Linked DNA regions of Homo sapiens: region 2 is linked to region 1. Evidence: promoter capture Hi-C in human tissues and cell types (Jung and others, 2019). All regions are on one chromosome and are shown on one strand. The core of a region is centred on a gene start or on the middle of the fragment in contact, and the rest is flanking DNA. Distances in the headings are between cores, read along the strand shown.

Region 1 (7,795 bases), core at 1,457-3,956:
AAGGGTCATCTAACCCAGATTTGAGGATGAAGGCAGGCTAATATTGCTGCTGACATTGCTGGCAATTCCTTTCTTTTTGACATACTCCCTTCTCTTAGCCTTTCCAGCGTTCCTTCTATTTCTCTGTTCCTTCTCTATTCCCTTTCCAGGTCCTCTTCCTCTGTCTGTCCCTTATGATGTTAGTGTTCTTCAGAGTTCTGTGTAGGCCTCCCCTTCACTTTTTACCTCATGGGTGATCTCATCGCTTCCCTTCTTTTTCAGTTTCCATCTATAAACCGACAGTTCCTGTAATCTGGGTTAGAGATACAGATCCCTCTACAGAGTGCTAGACTATCCAACCATTTAAAAGACATCTCTACTTAGATGCCTCAAACTCACCTCAAACTCCACAACTCCATAGCTCAACTCATCGCTTTGCTACCTCCCACCACTCCCCTGGCCATCTTTTCTCCTCCTGTGTTCCCGAGCTTAATGAAATGGTACCACCACTACTAGTTTACCCTAGCCAGAAACCTGGAAATCATCTTTGACTTCACCCTCTTTCATTTCCTTATCCTCTTATATCTAAATCAGGGTTTCTAAACCTTGGCACTTCTGACATTTTGAGGGCTGGATAAGCCTGTTTTATGTGTGTGTGTTGATGGGGTGGTGGGGGTGCTGTCCTGTGCACTGTACCATGTTAATAGCAACCCTGGCTTTTATCCATTATTTAGGTCCCAGAAGCAACCCCTAGAAGTGCCAGAAGTTGTTACAATCAAAAGTATCTCAATACATTGCAAAATGTACCCTGGGAGGGCAAAATTGCCCCCAGTTGAGAATCACTGACCTGTATCCATCAAGTCCTCCCTGTTTTACCTCCTGAATACTGTATCCCTTAAATTGATATACTTTTCATAATCTCCTCTACCACATTCTCATTTCAGGCCATCATCAGGGTAGATTAATCTACTAGCCTTCTAACGGGTCTCCATACCTCCAGACTGGTCTCCTCCAAATCATTCTCCACAATGATGCCAGAATGACCTTTCAAAGATCAACCCCCTTCCTATAACTCCGCAACATCTTCCTCCCAACCCACCATTAAACATTGTGAAGTTTCACTTTGCTCTTCAGATAAAGACAAATTCCTTCACATGACTTCCAACACACTTAATAATCTGGTCCCTTGTTTACCTCTCCAGCCTCGCCTTTCATCCTCTCAAACTCTATGCACTAGTTAGACAATTTCTGTTAGTTTTTCTATCACACAAACTGAACCTCTCGGGGGGTCTCTCAACCTGGGACATTATTCTCTCCATTTCCTCATCTGATCAACTCCTACTTATTTCTTCATGTCTCATTTCCTCTGGAAAGCCTTCCCTAATTCTTCAGAGCTGGGTTAGATGCTCCTCCCACAAGCTTACAAAATACTGTAAAATCACCTGACCACAGCACGAGGCATTGTAACTGGCTACCTCCTCTGTATACATTCCGCCCTTTAGATTGTAAAATCGGGACACAGACTGTCCCTTATCTTGCTCAAAAACCTCCAAAACAAGGTGCTTAGAAGGAATTATATTTATTTTTTAAAAAATAAAGGAATGTTTACTACAAAAGACACAATCTTTGGAGCTAATTCTCTCAAAAAGTTGTTTCTATATGGACAAGTAAAACCAACAGAATAAAGTGTGTGCCAGATTATCCGTTTAAAAATATCTGGGCAAAGTCTTCATGCTCTGAAAATGTCCACGCATCCCAACTGACAGTGGAATTCAGAGGCAATTCAATAATAGTTTGACCTCAGACCCACTCCCTCCAGCCTATTTTCTGCCAATCTAACAAACAGCTTTCCACAATTATCATTACCTATTTTCTACTAGTTTTCTCATCAGTATCGGTATTAGAGTGTGCAGGATTTAAAATCAGTATCTTGAAGGTGGAGAAGAATCCTTGTAATAAAAGCAGAGGCCACAAAATGTTATTTGTACCAACTACCTGGGTACCTGCAAACATAGGCCAAAGCATTCGGCCCTGTCATTCACTCTTTGCCCCTGGGAACAGCAAAGATACCGCTGGAGCCACTGCCTGTCAGTCCCCTAGGAGTGAGTCTGTCATCAGCACCCGGACCCTGCAGAAAGGCCCGTAGTGGGCGTATCCCCAGCTTCCCCGAGCCCCATCCACACAGAGCGGCCCTGCCTCTGCGAGCTGAGTAGCGATCGGGATCCTCTGCACCCGCTCCACAACGGCGAGGCCTCCCTGCCGGAGCTCCGAGGGGCGGCCAGGTCCTCACCCACCCCCGGCCGCGCGTCGCCGCCCACCTCGCAGTGCAGGAGTTCGGTGCCCGGGTCCTGCCGCCCCGCGATCCGGCAGAACACGCAGGTGCTGTCGTAGTCCTTGGGCTCTGGTGACTTGCCAGCGGCTTCACAGGTCCCCACTGAGGAAACCGTAGTTTCTGCAGTCGCCGAGGCCTCACAGTCGGGGGCCAGGCCGGCGCTGCGGTTCACCTGTTCCTCCGCCATTGCACCCGCCCCTCGCGGCCTAGAGCCTCGGCCTCTCCAGGGCTACCGGGCCCGCGCAGTCTCCGCGTCCCGCACCTCCTCCGTTTTACCTCGAGACGTCGCCCCTCGCCTGACGCTGGGCGGTGATCCAGGCTTTGGGGAGAGGGAAGGAGACGCGGTGAGGAACTTCAAAGCCGGAGGCCGGCCTCAAAACCGGCTGCCACTAGAGGGCGCGCAATGGCGCTGCCGAGAGTCGTCCTGACCCCTGCGCCTCGTTGGTAATGACGCACGACGTCTGCCAAGTCGCAGAGCGCCCAGCGCGTCGTGGTGACATCACAGAGGCGCGGGAGCGTTTGACATAATGGAGCTTGTTGGGTGTTCTGGACAGGCGTTCTTCAAAGCCCATAGTATAGCGTGTCCAAATATTGTATTACGCTGCCGTTTTTTTAAAAAAAAAAACAAAAAGTTTTTTAAAGTTTGATTTTTAAAATTCGTAGGTTTTTAAAGAATGAGCAAAATTCCTAAAGCCTTGTTTTCAACAGACATCATGTTTGCTGCTTTTTCAGCCACGATAATTGTAGGAGTTTAAACTCAAAATGTCCAAAACTGACCTTTACATCTCTGTTGACTTTTTATTGTTGTTAACAGCACAGTTAGATCAAACTAGCGACCTTTTTTTTAATCTCACATTCCTCATATACAAGTAGATGTGGAGTCCTATAGTCAATACTCTGAAATATCCCAGAAATTCAATGCCAGTGCCTCATAATGCCTCACCTAGACCAACGCAATCACCTTCTAACTTACTTATTGATTTTCCTGTCACTCAGACAAAACCTTCTGTAACTATGTGCTCAAAGAAAAAGTACCAGTTCCTTAGCTTGGTGTTCAAGGTGGACTCTGATTTGACCTCAGCTTTTCGTTTTGTGATACTTCCCACTTGCTGAGCATCTAAAACATGCCATATATTTCTCTAATTGTCAAAAAACGCAAGGTTGGTTTTATAACCACCGCTCTAGAGATGAAGGACCAAACTCAGAGTTGCCCAGTCCCACACAACTAATTAATAGTGACAGAGTTTAAGATCAAGGTTTGTCTAACTCCAAAACCCACCAACCTTTTTGACATACAGCACTCCTTTTTTAACACCAAAAAATTTGTTGGACTAGCTCACTATAGTAGTTACACCCTTGGTATTTGCTGATTTAGAAAATACATAACAAATTGGGAATTCAGTAATGATTTTTAATGGATTTATGTTGTAATAAAAAGTGGTTGTATGTGTTTTGAATTGTTGTACATATACATTCAAGACATTTTTCATTCCTTTTTGTAGTTGGCCCGTAGTTTGGGGAACCACTACAATAGCTTCACTGCCTTTCAGCACCCCAAAGCAGAGTTCAGAATCAATACATTAGAGTTTTGCCAAATTTTAGTATTCACAATTTCCATGCCTGTACTACACCTTCACATCACTGCTTTTATTCACACAGTTCTCTCTCAAATATTCTTGTTTCCATCTCTTCACTCCAAATTCTACCTTCCAAGCCACCCCTCCAATGCTACCTCCTTCATGAAATTTTCTTTAGCCAAACTGACATAAGCACATCCTCTTGCAAATTCATATAACAGGTTTTCAATATTTCTCTTGTAGGATTTGTCTCTTTGTATCTTATAGCTATTTATGTACTTATTTATCCTGCTAGGAATTATGTTTCTTGGCAACAAGATTGGGTGTGTGAATCTTCCATAATGCCTAGTACAGTTGGAACAGGAATTAAAGAATATGTAAGCAAAAACTCAGTTGTATGTAAGAAAACCCAGTTCCCCCTGAGGAGGAGAAAGAGGTAGAGTCCTTTAAAAATTAACTGCCTGTTTTTCTATCTGTGGCTAGTGAGCCTTATCTCTCCCTTTCCCAGGCATTGTGAAGACCCTGTTTCTCTAGCTGTGCAGCTGCAAAGTCACTAGACAGATAAACTCAAGTCATAAAATATGTTTTTCCTTGAAAAGTAAGAAATTATGTAATGCATATCTCAATTAAATAACTGTCATTTTTCTTACTTCTGTAATATGCTTCCCCCTGCACAGATCTCCCCCCAACTGCCCCCTGCCCACGAAATGCTTAAAAGGTAACCTGACCCTTTGTTCGGGGCTCAGCGGATGTTAATCTGACTGTGCCGGTGCACCTAAATAATAAATCCTCCTCAACCCCTCGGTCTTTCTGATTCCTAAATAATCCTGCAACACAGTGCTTTGCATGGAGGTAGACATTTAACAATTTTCTAATGAAGAATGGTTAGGAGCAAGGTCACAGCATGAGAGTGTTCAGGTTTCACAGTGTGCAAGGATACTACAGATAAGAGTGTGCTGATTCATATCATACACATGTATTAACTTATGGAAAAGCACATACAGAACTGGAGATTCCAGGCTAAGTTCTGGAGCGGTGGAAAGCTGATTTGTATATAAACCCCCATTGGGTGCATATGGCCACACACATACAGTTAGGAGACCATTCACTTACACACTAGCACACACACCAGCATAAGTTGCATCTGTTCTGACTGCACTCCTAGTGACACCTGAGATTTCTTCTCTCACTTACCTGGGACTTTCCAAGGCTTGCTTCTCATTCCTCAGCTTTGAACTTGATAATTTTCCCACTTTGGAAGTGAGGGGAGCAACATGAAGTACTTGAAAATTGTGTAGACGATGTGTCCTGTGTGGAAGCAGGCAAAAATACAGGCACTTGTATGTACATAGGCAGGACTACTGCCAGTGGGTGTTCTGGATAACCCTCCTGGGGAACAGCCATTCCAGTTCCATAACAATATACTAACTTAAAATCTGCTTGTGAAATCAGGTGCTATTGGCTAACTTCACAGGGCTACCATATGGGCTAGCAGGAGCCCTGCTTCAGAGCAGGCTCTGGAGTCAGACTACTCTACAACTTACCATCTGCAAAAACTTGGGCTATGTTATTTTCCTTTCTCTGCTGAGACACAAATTATTTATCTTCCTGTGCGGAGGTTTTCTGTTCATTCATCTATAAAATGGGGATAATAATGATGCCTAATGCGTGATCATGTTGCATGTAGAGTTGTCACCGATGCTTCAGGTGGTGCTTCACCAGCTGGAAACCCCTGTGGCCAGCAGCCCCTCTGCTTGAGTTTTGCTCATGCCCACTGGGCTTGTTCCACCCACTCGGACCAGCAGGCTGCGCTCAGCTCACACAACCAGCCTTGGATCCCACACCTGCCAAAGGCAAGCCAGGTGCAGAGCAGCGAGGGGTGTGTGTGCAAGCACGCTGTTTGGCCACTGCACACAGCCAGGCATGCTGGCTGCTGCGGAGGGGCAGGCAGCTCCAGGCACCCGCACAGGTGCTGACTCTGTATGAGGTTGCGGCTGGACCAGACGTACCGCAAGCGGCTTCCACTGCGGGCACCAGCATCTGGATGAGGGAAATGTGGTGATGCTGGAAAGCTCAGAGATGCCAGGAACCACAAAGCCCCAAAGAGGGTGTTACAGTATGTCACAGCCCTGGCTCAGGGAGCTCCAAGATCTGGGCTCCAAGAAGGGCCACAGCTCTTCTCTCCTTCACATCTACTGCAGCGCAGCAAGTAGGGGTTCATGTTCGGGGTTGGGGAGTGTGTTTCAGCTGATTTGTGTAAAGACTCTTTCAGTCCCATTGCCCTGCTCTGGCCCATGACTCCTGGGCTGGCCCTGCCCCTCCACTGCTTCTTGTTGCATGGGGTGGCCACCTGGCACCAGCAGAGGGCAGGAAGGCTACAGTGTTACAGCTCTGGCACAGGGATTCCCAAGGTCTGGGCCCCCAGAAGGGTTGTTACGTTTCACTCCTGCAGCCAGTACCATGCCACCGCCTGCAGCTCAGCAAGCTGGCCAGGAAAGTGTTATAGCCCCTTTTAGCTCCCACCCGCAGCTCAATGAACTGGCCAGGAAAGTGTTACAGCTCCTTTTGCTCCTGCCATTTGTCAGGTCCCAGGTTCTTGTCCCACATCCAGGAAGAATGAGGTTAGGTGGACAACTGGAGGGTGAGCAAGGTGGAGAAGAGCTTTACTGGGCAACTGAACAGCTCTCAGCAGGGAGATCTGTAGTGGGTAGCCTTCACTCCAGGCCATGGATTTCACCCGGAGCTGGAAGCCCAGGCCCAGCTGGCTTGTCACTGGCTTGAAGTTGAGGTTTCACCCGGGACCTGCCCCTTCCCACCTAGGAACCTGTCTGCCTCCTGCCACCATCAGAATGACACATCAAATTACTTGTTTGAAAGTAATTTAGGATATGGATATAAATCTTATTGTTATCAGTAACACACTCTAAGAACCAGCTTTGAACATTGCTTTTCCCATCACTCATGGATCTATTTTTCTGCTCCTCTTTGCAACAAAACTCCTCAAAAAAGGTATCTGTTTGCTTCCCAATCTGTCTTCTTTTCTCTCTCACACTGCCTCCTGTCAGACTTTTAGTGCCACCAATTGGTCCAAACTACTGTTATCATCAGTAACTATATTACTAAATCTAATGGTCACTTCTCAGTCCTCATCTTTTCAGCAACAGTTGGTCATTCCCTCTCCCTTGACAAACTTTTCCCCTCTTGATTTCCTGGACACCATACTTTTTTTTTGTTTGCTTTCCTCCTACTTCACTGGCTGTTTCTTCTCAGATTCCTGTGCTACTTCCTCTTCTTCCAAACCTCTCTCATCATTTAAGGGCTTTGGTCCTAGGTTCTCTTCTCTTTAGCTGCACTCACTTTCTTGGTCGTCTCATGCAATCCGTGGCTTTAAATACCATATATTTGCCAATAACTCCAAAATTTAAATCTGTAATATAGACCTCTCCCCTGAACTTCAGACTCAAATATCCAACTGCCTACTAAACCACCCCATACCCATGTTTAATAAATGTTATAAATTAGCCTGAATGAGCTACTATGGGGAGAGCTCCTCTTTCACCCCACCAAAACCTGCTACCATCTCAGCTGAGGGAAACTTCATTCCTCCAACTGCTCAGGACAGAAACTTTGAAATCATACCTGACACTTCTCTTTAACTACTCTTAGCCAATCCATAAAGAAATTCTGTAAAATACATTTAGACATTGCTGTTATCACTACTATCACTTTTGACTGAGCTACCATCACCTCTCACATGAATTATTTTGACAACCTCCTAATTAGTCTTATTACTTCCAACCTTACCCTCCAATCCCCATTACTGTCTAGTCTCAGCACAGCAGCTAGGGTGATCCTTTTAAAATGTAAGCCAGATCATGTCACTCCCCTGCTCGACATCCTCCAATAG
Region 2 (7,795 bases), core at 2,887-5,386, 860 kb after region 1:
TCCCATTTTATAGTTGTTAAAGCAAAATTTAACTTTATAAAATTGTAAAAGAGGATTATAATTGCTGTAGTTTGATTTTATTGCATATTATTGGTTATATAATATGGTATAAGTATATGAGAGAGCTGGTTCCCCTCATAGTCAAGGGAAGGAAATTTGGCTCCAGGGTTGAGCACCTGGTCCGAGGCTGCAGCACCCAGGAGGAGGCACAGAAACCAGGTTTTTCGACTCCTGAATCAATGCTCATTTCACTACCCAGACCACCTTATTTATATGATGGAAGTTTCTTGATTAGGAAGCAAGTCAATAACAAAACCCCTAGTTTCAGTTGTAGCATTAAGAATAAATATCTTCTTTCACAATGATTTTTATTTCTGAAAAGAAATAGCCTTCTGTCAAGAAACAATGCACTTTTAAGATATTTTTCACTATTACCAATTGATTACATAAAAATGCATACTGTAGAAGGAGATAGAACGATTTGATTCCAGCTCTAGGAAATAAATGTGCTGCTCAAATGATTTTCTAATAAGATAGCATCTGCTTATATTGCTATTTAAAAACTATTTAGGTCCATTTAAATTAGTTAGAATCACCTTCACAAATAGGAGTGTGCCTTTAAATTCAATGCATTACATATGGAAATAGGTTCTCTAAGGTTTACAGACTTTTGAATTTTAGTGTAAGATGTTGTCGCCTTTGTTCTGTAATAAAAACACACACATTTTCTAGAAGGAAAACTCTGCCTGTATCAAATTGGTTGTATGTCCCCTGCATCCTAAAACCAGATTATTCCGAGGAACAGTGGATGTGGAGTGGGTTTTCTACCATGGAAGGCTGGGGTGCTCCCTGGACTGTGCTGTGGCCTGTCCTAGGGCCCCTGCTATTGTTGGGTTGGCTGTCCCAATCCTCCAGGGAAGTCCATATAGGGAAGAAGGGAATGTGTTCTTTCATTCCTTCAAAAATATTTGTTGAGTCATTGATTACTATGTGTTAGACACTGTTCTAGTTACGGAAGCAGCACATACCAGACATTTTAAAGTCCCAACAACCCTTTCCCATAGGTCTATTATAATTTTATAGATGAAGAATCTGACATACAAAGAGATTAAGTAACTTGCCCCAGGTCCCTGAGCTAAAAGGTAGTAAAAACTGGAGCCTAAATTTGTATGGGCCCAATGTCTATGTTCTTTCTATCATGTCTAGTGTACATGTGTATATATATATATGTGTGTATATATATATACACACACATACACACACACATATATGTACACACACACTTATATATATCACATTTAGGACATACTTATACTAAAAATTACTGCTTGTCTATCTGAAATTAAAATTTAACTGAGTGTATTATATTTAATTGGGCAACCCCTTGGAAGTGTTTTTCAGGGCCAGCAATGAGGCAACAGGATATTATCACGTTTCCCTTATTTCTTTCCTTTGCATGTTTCAAAGTAAATTGCATACACACAGAAATTCAAAGACGCTTTAAGAAATCTTTTGCTCAAGAAGAACAGTATTTTGTTTTGAAGGATGTAATTGAAACGAGGAAACTAGGAAAGCATGCAGCTTTCCTTCCTTTTTTTTCCCTTTTCCTTCCTCTCTCTTTTCTGTTATTACTCTCTTTCTTTTCTTTTACTTTTTACTTCCTTTCTTCCTTCTCCCTTTGTAGAGCACATATTAAGGGCCAGGACTTGTGCCCTGTTGGGGATAATTGTCCCTGCCTTGAAGGAACACAAAGACCTGAAGGAAACTGTGAAAAGTGCTGTAATAGGTTGAATGGTGTCTTCCCAAAAGTTAATGTCCTCTTGGAACCTCAGAATGTGACTTTATTTGAAATAGGGTGTTTGTGGATGTAATTGTAGTATTTAAGTGAAGGTCTGTATTCCTTTGTTAGGGCTGTCATAACAAGGTACCACAGACCTGGAGTGGGAGGGACTTAAACAATAGAAAGTTATTTTCTCACAGTTCTGGAGGCTAGAAGTCTAAGATCAAGGTGTAAACAGGGTTGATTTCCTCTGAGGCCTCTCTCCTTGGCTTGCAGTTGGCCATCTTTTCTTTATGTCTTCAGCATGAACTTTCCTCTGTGTATGCCTGTGTCCCAATCTCCTCTTATGAGGATGCCAGTCATATTGGGTTAGGGCCCACCCGTATGACCTCATTCTACCTTACTTAGTTCCCTGTGTCAAGATTCTATCTCCAAATACAGTCACAGCCTGAGGCTGTGGGGATTAGGACTTCAACATATGAATTTAGAGAGAACACATTTCTGCCCCAAAGATGACACTGGATAAGGTTGGGTCCTATATCCAATGACTGAAGTGAAGTGAAGATACAGCAAGTCAAAGAATGCCAAGGATTGCTGGCAACCACCAGAAGCGAGGAGAGAGACAAAAAACAGATTCTCCTTCAGAGCCTCCAGAAGGAAACAGTGCTGCTGACACTTTGATTTCAGACTTCAGGCCTCTCTATGAGAGAATTAAGTTTGTTGTTGTAACCCACCCAGTTTGTGGTATTTTGCTACTTCTACCCTAGAAAACTAATACAAGTGCCTTGCTCAGTGGTGATTTACAAAGAGTCCTTAACAGAGGGGGCCATGGTGATGCACCCTGGATGGTACAGGCAGGATGGCATCTAGCAGGAGAAAATGCTGGGGCTGAGGACGATGGAGAAGTAGGAGTTAGGAGGAGGAGGAGGAGGAGGAGGAGGAGGAGGAGGAGGAGGTAGAGACCCAGCCTATGGGAGTATGCAGATGCACAGCTGCTTGACAGGGCCTGTCTGGATTACAGAAATAATAGAACTGAACAGTTGGAACTAACTTTAAATATAGGTTACATGGACCCACATTTCATTGCTGAAAGAGATCTTAGAGACTACCCTTGCACTCCTTGATTTTAGACCAAAGTCTGGGAAGGTATGTGGCTATGCCAATATCACAGAGCAAATTAATGTAAGAATTCAAGATAGGAATCCATTTGTCCTAAATCTTTGCCTAGTACTCTCCACAAGACCAGGATTGGAGCCCAGCCTTCACCAAGATCCACATACAGGGTATGTCTAATAACACAGGAGGGGCCCTAAACATGCTTACTACTACTACTACTACTAATAAACTGAATAAGTAATGTTGAATAAACTTTCAATGAATTGAATGTCAGAAAGAAAATAACTGGTATTATGCTATGTACTTTCATATACACTGTCTCATTTGATGGGAACAAAAACTTCTATCTGTTGTGTTATTATTCCCCAATTTCCAATTACTCTTTTAGAGTTGCAGATGTCAAAGGACAGTTTGGGTACCCTGCCTCAGAGTCCCTGGTTAACAAGAGAAGGGCTCTGAGAAGCAGTCTAGCTTGATAGCTCAGGGCTCCCAGGCCCAGGTTTAGATCACACCTCTGTCCTTGCAGACTCTGTGATGGGGGAGGTTATTCAGTCTCTGTCAAGGCTAATAAATAATGCAACAACGGTGATTCTAATAGTTTAAAACGGATCAGGATACCCTGATGTAGTGGGAAAAAACTTGCCCTTGGTATTCAAATCAGATTGATGATGCAACTCTGTCCTGACTTCACTTTCCTCATCTCTGAAATGGGAATAATGTTTATCTCATAGGGTTGTGAGGATTTTCCAGGAAAATCGCACACAACCCCGCACGTTTCTACTTGTTAAAGGAACTCAGCCGAAATTCTTGCCAGCTTTCGTCCCGACCCCATCCCCAGGGCTCCTCCTGGTTCCTGGTGGGCCCTCTTTCCTAGTCTATTTTTTTTAACTTTCTCTTCGTTTTGTCTTTCCTTTCTCTCTCCCTTTCATCTCCTTCTCCCCCCGTTACTTTTCTTTTGGGTTACCTTTTTAATGAGATGTAGAAAATGTATCAGCAGGTTTATGAAAAGTGAACTGGCAGATGGAAGATGTCACCATGACACTGAGGAAAACTGTTTTCTAACCCCCACCAAAGTAATTTAATTTACACATTTACTTCCTCAAAAAAAGAAAAAAAAAAGCTTTTATGCTTTCAGCACGCAGGCAATGGAGACAGCCTCGGGTCGTGTTGCCCACACGCAGGTGCTGCTAGCTGCCTCCCAGTCGCTCTCCTCGCGCATCTTCCCAGGGGACATCCGCCCTCCCGGGACTGTGCTCCGGACAGCGGGGGAGGGCAGAGGGAGGGGCAGGGAGGTGACAAGCAGCGCCCCGCAGTGTGCACCGTGCGCTTCACTCCGCGCTCCTCTCCGTGCACCCAGACCCAGAGCAGCCCCGCCCGGCAGCCAGCACAACTGCCCCGCGCCACAGGCCGCCGGCCTCTGCTTGCCAGGGCTGCGGGGGAAGAACATGCCCCCGTGCACTAGCTCCGCGTTCCCGAAGGAAGGTTTTCGCAGCCATGGGCAGTGGGCCTTTAGTCTCCCGCTCCGTGCAGTGGGAAGGGATCAACTGAGCGGCGCGGAGCCATCAGTGGTCTCTGCGTGGAGGCTGCAGCCCCGCCGACGCCCTCGCCTTCGCCCTCGCCCCCGCCCCCGCCCCCGCCCTCTATACTGTGGACAAAGGCAATCCGGATTTGTTTTTGTTTTCGTGGTTTTCTTTGTTGATGATGGGAGCTGGAAACTGGGGAGGAGAGAATTTTGCAGTTGTGAAAGGGCATCTCTCTCTTCCCTTACTTATTATTTTCTTCAAAGATAACAGAATTTCCCCATGGCAGGAACCGCAGACTGGCAAGCAGGAGACCTGAGTTTGAGTTGAGCCTTTGCTATGTGACCTCAAACAAACCATTGAACTGTATTTTTTATTTTTTATTTTTTAGTTTAGCTGGGCTTAGCTTTGTTGTTTTCTTTCCCACATTGTTTATAAAACGAGGATACTAATAACACCACAGAGGGGTTGTAAGGATTACATACACGTGAACAGACTATGTGAACGCATAGTAGGCGCTAGATAAAGATTTGTTTTGAAATTATCCATAACAACACCTCCAATATAAGGAATAAGAGACCTAGGAAGCCCAGAGAGGGCAAGTTAGCATGCCAGTTGGAGGATGAAAACCAAGGCTGGAACTAAGGTTTCCCATTTCCAGCTTCGTGTTCTTCCCATTTCCCACTCTTCCGCTGATTCTAACCTAGTGCACTTACAACTCTGGAGAAGGGAGACCCAGTTGGAATCCCTGGCTTCACCATTCTGAAGTTGAGGCGTCTTGGGCACGTCTCTTATAAAACTTTTTTGTTTTATAGTTTTGTAATTTGTTCCTCAAACGTTTCAATGCCTATGATGTACCTGCCAGTTACCATAGACGGTGGAGGGGACCCAAAAATGAATAGAACATGATCCGTGACCTCATGGAATTCACGTTCTTGCTAGAGGGCCTCATGCATAATATAAGCAAAAATAAATAACCAATCTGTTGGTGATTATATTAATAGAGCATGGTGGAAGGAAGAGTTCTGTTTAATGTCGGGGGTTGGGGGGGATCCCAATGTCTCAACAGTGAGCAAGGACTGGAGAGGTTAACTTGGAACGTGCTATCCAGGTTTCACCTCCACCTCTCACCTTTCCCCACACCTCTCCTCCTGCCCCAAGCTACTCTGTCTCATCCCACCCACCCACTCCGGGGGCTGATTCGTTCACTGCCCAGCCTGAGAGTGTTGATGACTGACAGTTCTAAGCTGAACCCACTCTGGAGTGTTCTCAGCTGAAAGGGTCACCTCCTCCCAAAGTCATGCTTCCAAGGGCAGCTCCCATTCAATGACTGATCTATGCAGAGTGTTAAGGCTTACTCTCATTTCAATTTGGGACAACTCTCTGCAGAGCCTTCCCAGCTTCAGGCTGATAGGTTATGGCTGATGAGCTCAGGCCTGTGTGGGGACTTCATTGCAGTCTAGTTTCTCTCCCTGCCCAATCCTGTTTATTTCACTCCTTCATAGATGTGCAGTAAACCTTAGCAATAAGCCTCCTGCATGCAAATTTCCATCTAGGAATCTGCTTCTCAGAAAACCCCATCCTGAGACAGAAGTGATAAAATCAGATTGTGTTTTTGTAGCATCACCCTAATAGCACTGTGAAGGATGCAGTGGACAGTGCCTATGGCCAGTCACATCACAGGCATGGGCAAAACAGAGGGGAAGCCTGAAGGCAAGAATCCCAATGCTTGCCATTATCTGAATAAGAAGGACAATCTGAATTAAAGGGTGAAGGTGTGAATAGAGAGGTTATTTAGGAGATATAATGACAGATTGAGCTAGGTTGGGTGAAAGATAGCCAGACAGGTCGAACTCCAGGTTTTTGTCTTGGGCACCTCATATCCATGCCCCAAAGGCTGCAATTCTCACCCTTACATATCTGAAGGTCTGAATGCCGAAGTCCACTAAAATATTTTTGGCCAAGCGTAAAATAGCTGTGTAACTTTTTTTCTGGACCAACTTTTGAGAATTTTGAAAAAAATTGTGAGTTTGACTCTCACATAGAGATATGCCATTCTCTTTTGGGGATCCATGATAACATGGGCATCCTCCTATGGGTGCTCAATAGCTATTTATTGAATGAATACAGAGAAAAAGTAAACTATTACCAAGGAAGTGATTTGGTTTTCATTAGCAAAGATGGGGAGAAGTCCAGCTGTGTGAAGAAGAATAGGGCCATTATTCATTTTGGAGCTGTCCTTCTGGCCAGCTGATCTGTACCTTTTTCTTTTGTCCATTTGCTTCACTCTAGTCTCATTGCAGCAGCCGGAATGATCCTGTTGGGACCTAGGGATGGCCATAGCACCCTTCTGTCTACAAACTTCAGTGGACTTTTCGTCTCATTCAAACTGAATGCAAATGCACTACAGTTACCCACCTACATTTGCAGCAATGCCCCCACCTCTCTGTTTATACTCATCTCCTCTCCTTCTATTCCAGCTGCTCTGGAGTCTTGCCTTTCTGAGCCCTTGTCTCTGCTGTTTGCTTTGCCTAGAATGCCCTGTTAGCTCATCAGTACAGCTCTCTCACCTCTCATACTTTTGCTCAAACTTTACCTTCCCAGAAGCCCATGCCCTTTTACCCCCACTATCTATCACTTTCCCCTGCTTTATTTTTCTCCCTTTCACTTCTATAATTTACTTATTTTGCTTATTTGTCTGATTCCTATACTAGAACGTAACCTTCTTATGGCAGACATTTTTTTGTCTCTTCTTCACTAATCTATAACCATGACTTGTAACAGTGTCTGGCATGTAATAGGTACTCAAAAAATATTTGTTGCATGAATAAATGGCAACTGTGCCTCAGACAGTCAATCTCTTTAGGCCAGGAGACAGGGACAAGTTTCATGATCTGCTGCCACTATTTCCATGGTGTGGTACCAGTTTTGGGGCCCAGGCTTTAAGAAAATGGTAGCTTCTGCTGGGCGCAGTGGGTCATTCCTGTAATCCCAGCACTTTGTGAGGCTGAGGTGGGCAGATCACAAGGTCAGGAGATGGAGTCCATCCTGGCTAACATGGTGAAACCTCATCTCTACTAAAAACACAAAAAGAAAAAAAAAATTAGCCAGGTGTGGAGGTGGGCACCTGTAGTCCCAGCTACTCTGGAGGCTCAGGCAGGAGAATGGCGTGAACCCAGGAGGTGGAGCTTGCAGTGAGCCGAGATCCCACCACTGCACTCCAGCCTGGGCAACAGAGCGAGACTCCACCTCAAAAAAAAAAAAAAATGAAATAAAATAAATAAATAAAAATAAAAAAAAAAAAGAAAAGAAAATGGTAGCTTCAATTTCCAGTCTATTTGGGATGTTGCTGTCAGAATTCAGCCACCGTATTGGTAGA

What was found. The method cuts DNA at HindIII sites, captures the fragments that hold promoters and counts their contacts. A contact is called where the count stands out against the background at its distance.
Region 2: a fragment that was not itself captured here is called in contact with the fragment with the promoter of HINT3 in region 1 in 1 of the 25 tissues and cell types used here (hippocampus).

The regions. Positions count from the first base shown.
Region 1 is chr6:125,951,681-125,959,475 of GRCh38, reverse strand. HINT3 (histidine triad nucleotide binding protein 3) reads right to left here and starts at 2,706. Exons shown (of 5, transcript NM_138571.5): 1 at 2,298-2,706. The coding sequence starts at 2,498. RefSeq lists enhancers at 1,484-1,533, 2,594-2,693 and a silencer at 2,204-2,423. The HindIII fragment of the contact is 11,405 bases long and covers 580-7,795 here.
Region 2 is chr6:125,096,255-125,104,049 of GRCh38, reverse strand. No RefSeq gene overlaps it. Among named protein-coding and RNA genes, the nearest start is that of TPD52L1, 54 kb to the left of the region's middle. The HindIII fragment of the contact is 8,655 bases long and covers 1-7,795 here.